4 separate regions of the Homo sapiens genome follow, and all the other regions are linked to region 4. The links are contacts of gene promoters, found by promoter capture Hi-C in human tissues and cell types (Jung and others, 2019). All regions are on one chromosome and are shown on one strand. The core of a region is centred on a gene start or on the middle of the fragment in contact, and the rest is flanking DNA. Distances in the headings are between cores, read along the strand shown. Region 1 has its middle 34 kb from the start of LINC02565. Region 2 has its middle 24 kb from the start of LINC-ROR. Region 3 has its middle 12 kb from the start of LINC02565. Region 4 holds the start of BOD1L2 (biorientation of chromosomes in cell division 1 like 2).

Region 1 (2,700 bases), core at 8-2,507, 58 kb after region 4:
TCCCTTCTGCAACATGCTGGCATTTTAGGACATCTAATTTCTACTTCCAGAGTGAGCATCCAGAGGTCTACCGCAAAGAAGATAGTACTGTAAGTTAGGAAACCATATAAGGATGGGCAAGTCTCAACCCCTCTGGTCCTTTGTCTCTGTTAAATAAGAAACAGAAGCTAAGAGAACTTTAAGTTTCTCTTTCCATCAATTTGCTGAATAAATTCTCTAATTCAGGTCCCAGAACCATGAGACATAGACCCCACTTTTAAAATAAACTTTATTAAGGTATAATTTATATACAGTAAAATGCATTTAAGTGTAAATTTTGATGAGTTGTGACAAATTTATATACCCATGCCATCACCACTATAGTCAAGATAGAGGACATTTCCATTACCCCCCAAAGTCCCTCTAAGTCCTTTCCCAGTCAATTGTCACTTTCCTCCACTCCAGCCCTAGCTAATCACAGATCTACTTTCTGTCATTATAGATTAGATTACTGTTTTCTAGAGTTAAGCATATGTAATCTGCACTCTTTGATGTCTGGCTTTTTTTATTCAACATGTTTTGAAATCTATCCATCAGTATGTATCAGTTAGTTCATTCCTATATAATGCCGAAGAGTATCCCACTGAATGGATATACCATAGTTTGTTGACATATTCATCTGTTCATGGACATTTGGGTTGCTCTCAGTTTTGGACTATTAAGAATAAATCAGCCGGGCATGGTGGCTCACGCCTGTAATCCCAGCACTTTGGGAGGCGAGGCAGGCAGATCACCAGGTCAGGAGATCAAGACCATCCTGGCCAACATGGTGAAACCCCATCTTTACTAAAAATACAAAAATTAGCTGGGTGTGGTGGTGCATGCCTGTAATCTCAGCAACTCAGGAGGCTGACTCAGGAGAATCGCTTGAACCAGGGAATTGGAGGTTTCAGTGAGCCGAGATCACGCCACTGCACTCCAGCCTGGCAACAGAGCAAGGCTCTGTCTAAAAAAAAAAAAAAAAAAAAAAAAAGAATAAATCTACTCTGAATGTTCATGTACAAGTTAATGTGTGAATATTTATTCTTATTTATTTTGGGCAAATACCTAAGAATTAGTTTGTGTGGTTTCATGGTAAGTATATAAATAACTTTGTAAGAAATTCCAAACTGCTTTCCAAAATGGCTGTGCCATTTTTCATTCCCACCATTAACATGTGAGTATTCCATTTGATCTATATTGTTGTCAACTCTTGGTATTGTCAGTCTTTTAAATTCTGGCTGTACAGGTTTTGTTTTGATGTTTGATTTTAGGTTATGCCTACACAGAAGGGCCCTTAGAGCATTTCGGTGGGAGCTCTGTATTATGCTGCTTGGATCCAGGATGAGTTCAGGTGTCTCAGATTCTTTCAGGTCCAAATACACTAGCCAGTTTCACCAGCAGTCAAGAGCAGGATGAGCCTGATGACTTGATGCCATCTTTACCACCCATACATGAGTCAAGCTTTAAGGTCCTCTGCAGTCAGATTTCACAGTCCTAGAGCCACAGCTAATGCCTCCCTGAGCTCTCCTAGTGGGCGACTGACACATTCTTTAATGAAGAGACGCTGCCTTTGAGTACCAGGAAGTTCTTCTTCCCATTCATGGCAACCCCTTCATCTGATTATATGTTTTAATGAAGGAGAATGAGGAGAGAAAATGAGTGCCAGACGTATCTGGAATGGGTCTGAACAATAATTACATTCTGCAGTGAAATTTCTAAAATGCTCCATTCAGTGTGCTTTGGAAAAGGCTGGCAGGGGAGAACTGCGTGTTCCTGAAAACAGAACTAAGGAAGCGCAATTTAAAGCTCTAGCATAGAAACATGCCTACAACAACTGAAGAAAGCCCTTTCCTTTTTCAAAAGAAAAAATATAAATTGAAGCTCAGTGAAGAGTGAACATTCAGACCTCCCTGGTAATGGATTCCTTCCCACACTGGATTCTAAAACAGTAAGGGAAGATAACAGGGTACATCCAACCTCCTCAGCCCCAGGGAAATTTAACTGGGTGAATATTGGTCGGATACCTCACCAGACTCCAGAAACTGAAGTGCCCTGATCGGGCAGCTCTTTCTTCCTCAGCCAGGCTGTGATTTGTCTACAACTGAAGGCAAAGAGCTGAGGGTGATTATGAGCTGTGTCTCTGGTCTGTGAGGGTGACCACCAGGAAGGCAGTGCTGGTGACACTCCCAGGGGCCCAGATGCTCCCCTAGAAGGTGACACTCCCAGGGATCCAGATGCTCCCCTAGAAGGTGACAGTCCCAGGGATCCAGATGCTCCCCTAGAGGGATGTCAGGTTTCTGCCTGAAAATTCTAGTATTTCCTCTGTACTCCCCAAAGGGATGGAGGCCATGTCAGCCTTACATGTGGGCACCAGAGGCCAATTTTAAGTGTCCACTGGCTGTGGCCCTTCCCCCCGTCCCACAGTAGTCTTATCCCTGTCCTGACAGTTTGTATGGACAAAACTTCCCCTGAAGCTCAGAATGCTGAGAGGTTTTCTAAGCATGTTCCAAGACCTAGGGCTTCTTAGAGATAACATGGAAATGTCCCCCCACCCCCTCAACAAATCCCCGTAGGATTCTATAACAATTCCAAAGTCTGTGCCTTTAACAAAAGGCAGAGAACAGGCATTTTAGAGAACCCATCCAGAATCAGATTTTCTGGGTCCAAATTGTATGACTT
Region 2 (2,716 bases), core at 149-2,648, 51 kb before region 4:
CCCAGAGCCTACAGATCTCATACCCTCTGTGTTCCGGCCGTGGGTCCCCCGCTCTGTCCAGTGCCGTGACCCAGTGCATCCCTCACCTTTACGCATCTCCTTCTGCTTGGGCTCCAGCCACCCTCCCCACTCCTGTGCGGCCCGCCGTGTCAATGGAGCCTTATACCCTGCTCTTTGGAACAATTCTCTAGCTTGCCCCAGCTCTCAGATCAAGATTTTGAGCTCTGGCCAGTACCTCCCTCTTCACCTCATCTTCCATCCTCCCTGGCATAGACTTCTGGTTAGTAAGGCTGAACCACATGCAGCCTCCTTGAGGGGTTCTCATGAGTCCCACCAGGGGTCCTGGGATCCAGAGGAGAAGGCCCTGCTCAAAGGGCTCAAGTTCTTTTCTTTACGGACCTCTGTTCAATGACTTCCAACTCTGGAAGGTGTTCACTATGGGCTTTTTATACTCCTAATTTTCAGAAGAAAATTGGAAGTGTGTCAAAAGATACTGGCCTGGGATTCAGAGCCTGGGGCTCTAAACCAAATGCTACCACTAATTAGGTGAGTGGCCCTGGCAGCCAGCCTTTTTGTGAAGTGAGGGGACTGGAACTCTAGGCCCCTTTCGGTGGGGACATCTGTGCTTCAGAAGGGCCCCAGAGCCTCCAGAAATCTGGCTTAACAAGAACACATTTTGATATTTTCTGACTTGCACATTTCCTGGGGAAAACCAATGAGCTTACACCTGTAATCCCAGCACTTTGAGAGGCCCAGATGGGTAGATCGCCTGAGCTCAGTACTTTGAGACCAGCCTGGCCAACATGGTGAAACCCCATCTCTACTAAAAATACAAAAATTAGCCAGGCATAGTGGTGGGCATCTGTAATCCCAGCTACTTGGGAGGCTGAGGCAGGAGAATCACTTGAATCCGGGAGGTGGAGGTTGCAGTGAGCTGAGATCTCTCCACTGCACTCTAGTCTGGCAACAAAGCAAGACTCCATGAAGAAGAAGGAGAAGGAGAAGGCGAAGGAGAAGGCGAAGGAGAAGAAGAAGGAGAAGGAGAAGGAGAAGGAGAAGGAATAGTAATGTTAAATCAAAGCAGCAATGCTGTGAGGTAGTTGCCACTTAGACAAAAGCGAAGCTTTCAGATGAATACGAAACTTTGCACTACACCCAGGCAAACCTGCTGCTTGGTGCAATACAGCCTGTGATGTGGGGTCTCGTGCTCCCTACCCCCCACACTCAGTTTGCCTTGTCTGAGTAGTTTCTGAGCACTGCCCAGGCTGGGATGCCCTTCAGGGTGGCTGCTGACAAGCACATCTGCCAGAGGAAACTAGAGTCTGAAGGGTTCTTGGATGCTCTGATACGCGCTGAAAAGAAGTCAGGCTTCAGTTAGAAGTGAAATCTGAGACTTCGGTTTCCTGCAGAGAGCAAAGGGAGAAGGCAGAAATATTGAGGCTAAGAAGTCAGGCAGTGGGAAACAAGAGAGAGTGATTCATGCAGGGGAAGACAGCTTGGGAGCAGTGATAAGAGAAGGAACAATACCAGACACACAGGCTGGTAGAGTCAAAGGAAAATGATTTTGCAAGATAGCGTGAGTCCTGGATGGACACACACTGCAACATTTTGGCTGAGTCTTCCTGGGTAGGTTTGGGACCTGAGTTGTTTTACAGGAAGACCCCAGCTCCTGATGGAGAAAGCCCACAATATAGACAGGCTGGAACGTAATAAAAACATTACATTTTTATTATGTTTTATTAAATAGGCTGGGTGCAATGCCTTATGCCTGTAATCTTAGCACTTCGAGAGGCCAAGGCAGGAGGATAGCTTGAGCCCAGGAGTTCAAGATCAGCCTGGGCAACGTAGCGAGGCCCTATCTCAAGAAGAAGAAGAAGAAGAACAACATCAACAACAACAACAAAACACTTAAAATACACTTTGAGGAGCTTCTAGCTTTTTACCTGATATGCCCACTGGCCAGAACAATTTCCTGTAGGAACTGACCAGATCCGCGTGGTCCAGAAGCCAAATTGTAAAATCAGAGAAGCTGGTCTTCATTCTTCACCTTTATTTTCTGAATCTGTCTCCCCCCACCTCCCTACCTTCCGTGCTTTCAGTGCCAACTTCCCTATCTTTACATTTTCTACCCTCTCTCTCTCTCCCATAAACCCTTGTGACAACCTTACTGTTAGAATGGGAATATGTCTGGTAAATTTCTTCATACCATGAAGTCTTAGGGACTTGATGTGCTATTTCTTTGAAGGGATTAAATTATTAATAGCAACATTTTTGACACCAGTTAGAAAATATTTTGTCAAGGACCTTCCCATGAGTTCTATATCTTCCCATAAGCCCTCTATCTATATCTTACAATGCAGGGCAACTCTTTCTACCGCCCATGACTGAGACCCACTGGGTGCAAAGTCTGTGGGAAAGTCATGTTTTGATGACCGTGATGGTCACCAAAATGACTTCTTTGGGAAGTGGCCTAGTGCAGTCATTTGGATTCCAGCCTAGCCACTTTCTAGCTGTGTGACATGATGCACATTTCTTTTAAAGTTTCAGCTTCCTGGTCTGGAAAACAGACGTAAGAATGGTATGCCCCTCATGGAGCTATCTTGGGGATAAGATAGTATGGCATGAAACAAGTGCTCAATAAGTATTTGCGATCATGCTTCCTTGATTGTGAGGTAGGCTTATGTGAAGATGTATTTGAAGTCTCACTTGATTCTGT
Region 3 (2,700 bases), core at 190-2,689, 37 kb after region 4:
GTTCTAACAGTTCTTGGTGGAGTCTTTAGGCTTTTCTCTATATAAGATCATGTCTTCTGCAAACAGGGACAATTTGACTTTCTCCTTTCCAACTTGGATGCCTTTTATTTCTTTTTCTTACCCAATTGCTCTAGCTAGGACTTCCAGTACTATGTTGAACAATATGATAAAAGTGTGCATCCTTATCTTGTTCCAGTTCTTAGAGAAAAAGCTTTCAAGTTATTGCCATTAAGATGTCAGCCATGAGTTTGTCATATATGGCTTTTATTGTGTTGAGGTATATTTCTTCTATACCTAACTTGTTGAGAGTTTTTATAATAAAGGGATGTTGAATTTCATCAAATGTTTTTCATGCATCTATTGACATAGTCACATGGTTTTTGTCCTTCAGTGTGTTGATGTGATGTATAAGGTTTATTGATTTGCATATGTTGAACCATCCTTGAATTCCTGGGTTAAATCCTGCTTCATCATATTGTATAATCTTTTTGATGTACTATTGGATTTTGTTTGCTAGTATTTTGCTGAGGATTTTTGCACCTGTCTTTATCAGGGATATTGGCCTGTAGTTTTCTTTTGTTGTTGTTGTGTTCTTCTCTGGTTTTGGTATCAGGGTAATGCTGGCCTCAAAGAATGAGTTTGGAAGAATTCCTTCCCCTTCAATTTTTTTTCCCTGGAATATTTTGAGAAGAGCTGATGTTTGTTCTTTTTTAAAAGTTTCGTAGAATTCTGTAATGAAACCATCCAGTCTTGGGCTTTTTGTTGTTGCTGGGAGAGTTTCCATTACTGATTCAATCTTGTTGCTCATTATTGGTCTGTTCAGGTTCTCTATTTCTTCTTTGTTCAATTTTTGTAGGTTGTATGTATCCAGGAATTTATCCATTTTCACAAGGTTTTTTAATTTTTTGGCATATAATAGTTTCTAATGATTCTTTGCATTTCTGTAGTATCACTAGGATCATTACTTTTTTCATTTCTAATTTTATTTATTTGGAACTTCTTTTTTCTTAGTCTAGCTAATAGTTTGTCAATTATTTTATCTTTTCAAAAAACTATTTTTTGTTAAACTTTTATATATTTTTTAGTCCCTGTTGTGTTTATTTCTGATTTTATCTTTATTATTTCTTTCCTTCTACTAATTTTGGGTTTGGTTTGTTTTTGCTTTTCTAGTTCCTTGAGGTGCATTGTTAGGTTGTTTATTGAAATCTTAGAAAGATTTAATGGAGGTGTTTATTGCCATAAACTTCCCTCTTAGTGCTGCTTTGACCTATAGGTTGTGGTTGTGTTTCTCTTTTCATTTGTTTCAAGATATTTTAGGGCTAGGCGCGGTGACTCATGCCTGTAATCCCAGCACTTGGGGAGGCTGAGGTGGGCTTTTCACCCGAGGTCAAGAGTTCGAGACCACCCTGGCCAACATGGCAAAACCCCATCTCTACTATAAATTTACATGTATTTGCACAGTTACCAAAGTTCCTCTTGTTACTGATTTCTAGTTTTATTCCATTGTTGTCTAAAAAGCTATGTGATATAATTTCAATTTTAAAAAATTTGCTAAGACTTGTTTTATGGCCTAACATATGTCTATTCTGGAAGATATTCCATTTGCTAATGAGAAGAATGTATATTCTGTAGCTGTTAGATGAAATGCTCTGTAAATGCCTGTTAGGTCAATTTAGTCTATAGTGCAGTTTAAGACTACAGTTTCTTTGGTTTCTGTCTAGGTGATCTGTCTATTGTTGAAAGAGAAGTGTTGAAGTTCTCAACTATTATTGTACTGGAATATCTCTCTCTTTTTAGATCTAATAATGTTTACTTTATATATCTGAGTGAACCAGTGTGGGGTACATATACATTTACAATTGTTATGTTCTCCTACAGAATATATCTCTTTATTGTTATATAATGACCTTCTTTGTCTCTTTTTACAGTTTTTGACTTAAAGTGTATTTTATCTGATACAAGCATAGCTACTTCTGCTCATTCTTGGCTTTTGTTGCATGGAATATCTTTTTTCATTCCTTCACTTTCAGTCATAGGTAAAGTGAATTTCTTCTAAGCAGTATATAGTTGGGGTTTTTAATTCATTCAGTCAGTCTTTATCTTTTAACTGTGAAATGTAAACATTTACATTCAAGCTATTAATTGATGAGGACTTACTTTTGTCATTTTAATAATTGTTTTCTTGTTGTTTTATATATTGTTTGTTCTTTTATTCCTTTTATTATTTATCTCTCCCATTGGTGGTTTTCTTTTCTTCTACTTTTTTTTTTTTTTTTTTTTTTTTTTGAGACAGGGCCTCTCTCTGTCACCCAGACTCGAGTGCAATGGCATGATCATAGCTCACTGCAACCTCAAACTCCTGTGCTCAAGTGATCCTCCCACCTCAGCCTCCTGAGAAGCTGGAACTATAGGCATGTGCTATCATACCTAGCTAATTTCTGTATTTTTTGTTGAGCCGGGGTCTTACTATGTTGCCCAGGCTGATCTTGAACTCCTGGACTCAAGCAGTCCTCCTATCTTGGCCTCCCAAAGTTCTAGGAAGTAAAGGCATGAGCCACTGTGCCTGGCCAAGTTGGTGGTTTCCTATAGTGATAAGGTTTGATTCCTTTTTCCTTTTCCATTTGTATATCTGCTCTACCAGTGAGTTTTATACTTCTGTGTGTTTTCATGATGGTACTCATCATCTTTGCTTTCATATGT
Region 4 (2,938 bases), core at 439-2,938:
GCATTCTAAGAGAACTCCTGTGCAATCTGAAGGGCTCATGCACAGTGAGGGGATAAATGAAGACTCAGTTCAGGCTCCAGCACTTCTGCAAAGTCTTCTTCCATCTGCCACGTTCTCCCAGGCTTCAGTGTTCTCCAACACATGACAGGGACACCCTCCTTTCATCTATGCAATCTTTATTCTGCAAATATTAATGGTGCCTCTCTTTTGTTCCAGGCACCATGCTAGGTGTGCATGTTGCATCTAAGTTCCCATGGAGCTTGTGTATGTCCTCAATGGTTTTCTCTGTCAACATCTCCCCTCTCCAACTAGATTGTAAGCTTTTCAAAGGCTGGCCATGTTGCCTGTCTTAAACAACAGCCACAGCAAACATTTATTGAGTGTTAGACTGGGCCAGGCACGTGGAGAGCTCCATAAAGCTTAGCACAGGGCCACATCGACTAGTCCCTCAATAAATATTGATTAATTTAAAAAAATACAGAACTGAATTGTCGAGCTGATCATGGGGATGGTGAGGAGCATAGGTAGGGGGTTGCTGTGGTGAAGTCTTGGTAGGTTCACTGTCTCCTGTGGGATGAGATTCAGAATACGTCCATCTGAGGCATCTGTACTTGTATGTCAGAAGCTATGGGGTGAGGTTATTGACAGAGTCTGTTGTGTAAACTTTCTTTGTGAAATATACTACCTTTAAGCTATGTTACGGCTTATAGAACAATGTGGTGTCTACATCTCAGGGGCATTTTAATTCAGGGAAGTGAGTGTTGGGGTGAAATCAGGGATCTGCTTTTCTTTTGAAATATTGATAGAAGGTTCTTTCTGTGCACCTGCACTTCTCTATTGGATGGCGCTGGATGTGGTTGCCTTTTGTGGCTCTTGGTTGCAATACAGTTCTCTTGTTGAAATGACCTCCTTCTGACTGACACATCTGCCCTAGGCTCATCAATGGCTACCAAAGCCAATGGACACCTTGTGGAACATAGTGTGGCATTTCACCCATGGCCTTCATGAAATGTACCTTTTGCGGTCTATGATCCAAGGCTTTTGTAGTTTTCCCTCCATCTTTTTAGTGTTGTTCTCAGTCCCCCTCATGGGCTCTCCAGGTGTTCCTCTATCTCTTCTAAGTTCTCCATTGTAATTGCCACCTATAGTCTCTACCTTCAGTGAGTTAGATGTCTCTCCCCAGCCCCTAGTCCTTGTATCTTTGGACTTCATAGGCAGATGTCTGCATCTGAATAACCCATACCCATCTTAAACTAGTAAATAAAAATGGAATGCACGATCATGTCTCTGTCTCCCATCCTCACCTCTATACCTGTTCTCCATTTAGTAAATGGCACCTCCATGCACCTGCCCAAGTGAGAAGCCTGGGGGTCATCCTTGACCCTCTCCTTTCCCTCGTCCCTCACCCCGTTGTTCTCCAATCCCTGGGATGAGTCTATCTCCTAAATATCTCTTGTATCCCTGTTACCTTCTTCACCTGCCAGGCCACGAAGATCATTCACTCCTCGCCATCTCCTTCTTAGGGCACTGAAATGGTTGCTGAAATTGTCTCCCTGTTTCGCCCTTGCCCACTGGCATTTGTTTCCCACCTCCCTCTTAGAGATCTTTTAAGAAATGCAGATTACGGTTCCCGCCTCACAATGCAAAGGTCAACGGTGACGCCATCTGGAGCGCGCTTGGAATCCAGCAGGCGGTTGCTGCCGCGTCTTCCACAACCTCCGCGGTCTGGAGCTGGCCTCCCCCACCGCCGCCCCAACCACCGGCCCCGCCGCCATCACCACCACCGTCACCTCCGCCGCTGCCTCCTTGGGGCCCTCCTCCTTCACCGCCCCCTTAGCCACCTCTACACATTCTAGGCTTTCTGTCCTGGAGAAGAAGCTATAATCGGTTTCCTTGTGGGCCCGGTGCGCAGCCATGGCGGACGGTGGCGGCGGCGGCAGCGGCGGTGCGGGCCCGGCCTCGACCCGGGCCAGCGGGGGCGGCGGCCCCATCAACCCGGCCTCGTTGCCCCCTGGCGACCCTCAGCTCATCGCTATCATCGTGGGGCAGCTCAAGAGCAGGGGCCTTTTTGACAGCTTCCGCCGGGACTGCAAGGCTGACGTGGACACCAAGCCAGCTTACCAAAACCTGAGCCAGAAAGCGGATAATTTTGTGTCGACACATCTGGACAAGCAGGAATGGAATCCTCCAGCAAACGACAACCAACTGCACGATGGTCTGAGGCAGAGTGTGGTTCAGTCAGGGAGGTCAGAAGCTGGAGTGGACAGGATTAGTTCTCAGGTGGTGGATCCAAAACTAAACCACATCTTCAGGCCACAAATAGAACAAATAATTCATGAATTCCTGGTGGCCCAGAAAGAAGCAGCTGTGCCAGCACTCCCTCCAGAGCCAGAAGGCCAGGACCCTCCAGCTCCGTCTCAGGACACTTCCTAAGAATATGCCTGACAGCTTTTGAAAGCGCTATTTAATTTTTGGTGAAGAAATGGATTCGGTTACATAAGAGTGCAGTTTCAGATTGAAGATAAGCCAAGTTCATCACTGAGCTCAAGATTTCCACCTCGACCATGAGCAGTGACCAGATTGAAAGGGAAGCAAGTTCGCCAGAGAGAAAGTTGACCGTGGCACCCTCCTGCATTGCGCTGCCATTTGGCCAGCCTTTCCAAGGGCATGACACCAAACACACACTACAGAGAGGGAAACACTACCGCGACCCAGGATTGTCCTGAAACAGACATCTATACTTGAACATGGAGACTGCACATGGATTTTAGGGTTTGTGCTCTGAGATAAACGAAAGCTACAGCGAGAGAACATAACCAATCCCAAAGACAATTTCAAAGAACAATGACAGTAAAGGTTAACTGGGAGGAATATTTGACAGTACTTATTTGATATTGTCTCTCAGAGTTGCAAACTAGATTGTACACAACATTAGTGT

The links. The method cuts DNA at HindIII sites, captures the fragments that hold promoters and counts their contacts. A contact is called where the count stands out against the background at its distance.
Region 1: a fragment that was not itself captured here is called in contact with the fragment with the promoter of BOD1L2 in region 4 in 7 of the 25 tissues and cell types used here (aorta, bladder, heart right ventricle and 4 more).
Region 2: a fragment that was not itself captured here is called in contact with the fragment with the promoter of BOD1L2 in region 4 in 1 of the 25 tissues and cell types used here (H1 embryonic stem cells).
Region 3: a fragment that was not itself captured here is called in contact with the fragment with the promoter of BOD1L2 in region 4 in 8 of the 25 tissues and cell types used here (aorta, hippocampus, mesendoderm cells and 5 more).

What each region holds. Positions count from the first base shown.
Region 1 is chr18:57,204,077-57,206,776 of GRCh38, forward strand. No RefSeq gene overlaps it. Among named protein-coding and RNA genes, the nearest start is that of LINC02565, 34 kb to the left of the region's middle. The HindIII fragment of the contact is 4,703 bases long and covers 1-2,700 here.
Region 2 is chr18:57,094,647-57,097,362 of GRCh38, forward strand. No RefSeq gene overlaps it. Among named protein-coding and RNA genes, the nearest start is that of LINC-ROR, 24 kb to the left of the region's middle. The HindIII fragment of the contact is 4,490 bases long and covers 1-2,716 here.
Region 3 is chr18:57,182,315-57,185,014 of GRCh38, forward strand. No RefSeq gene overlaps it. Among named protein-coding and RNA genes, the nearest start is that of LINC02565, 12 kb to the left of the region's middle. The HindIII fragment of the contact is 4,241 bases long and covers 1-2,700 here.
Region 4 is chr18:57,145,399-57,148,336 of GRCh38, forward strand. It overlaps BOD1L2 (biorientation of chromosomes in cell division 1 like 2), which reads left to right and starts at 1,689. Exons shown (of 1, transcript NM_001257964.2): 1 at 1,689-2,938. The coding sequence starts at 1,915. The coding sequence ends at 2,433. RefSeq lists an enhancer at 1,858-2,453. The HindIII fragment of the contact is 20,182 bases long and covers 121-2,938 here.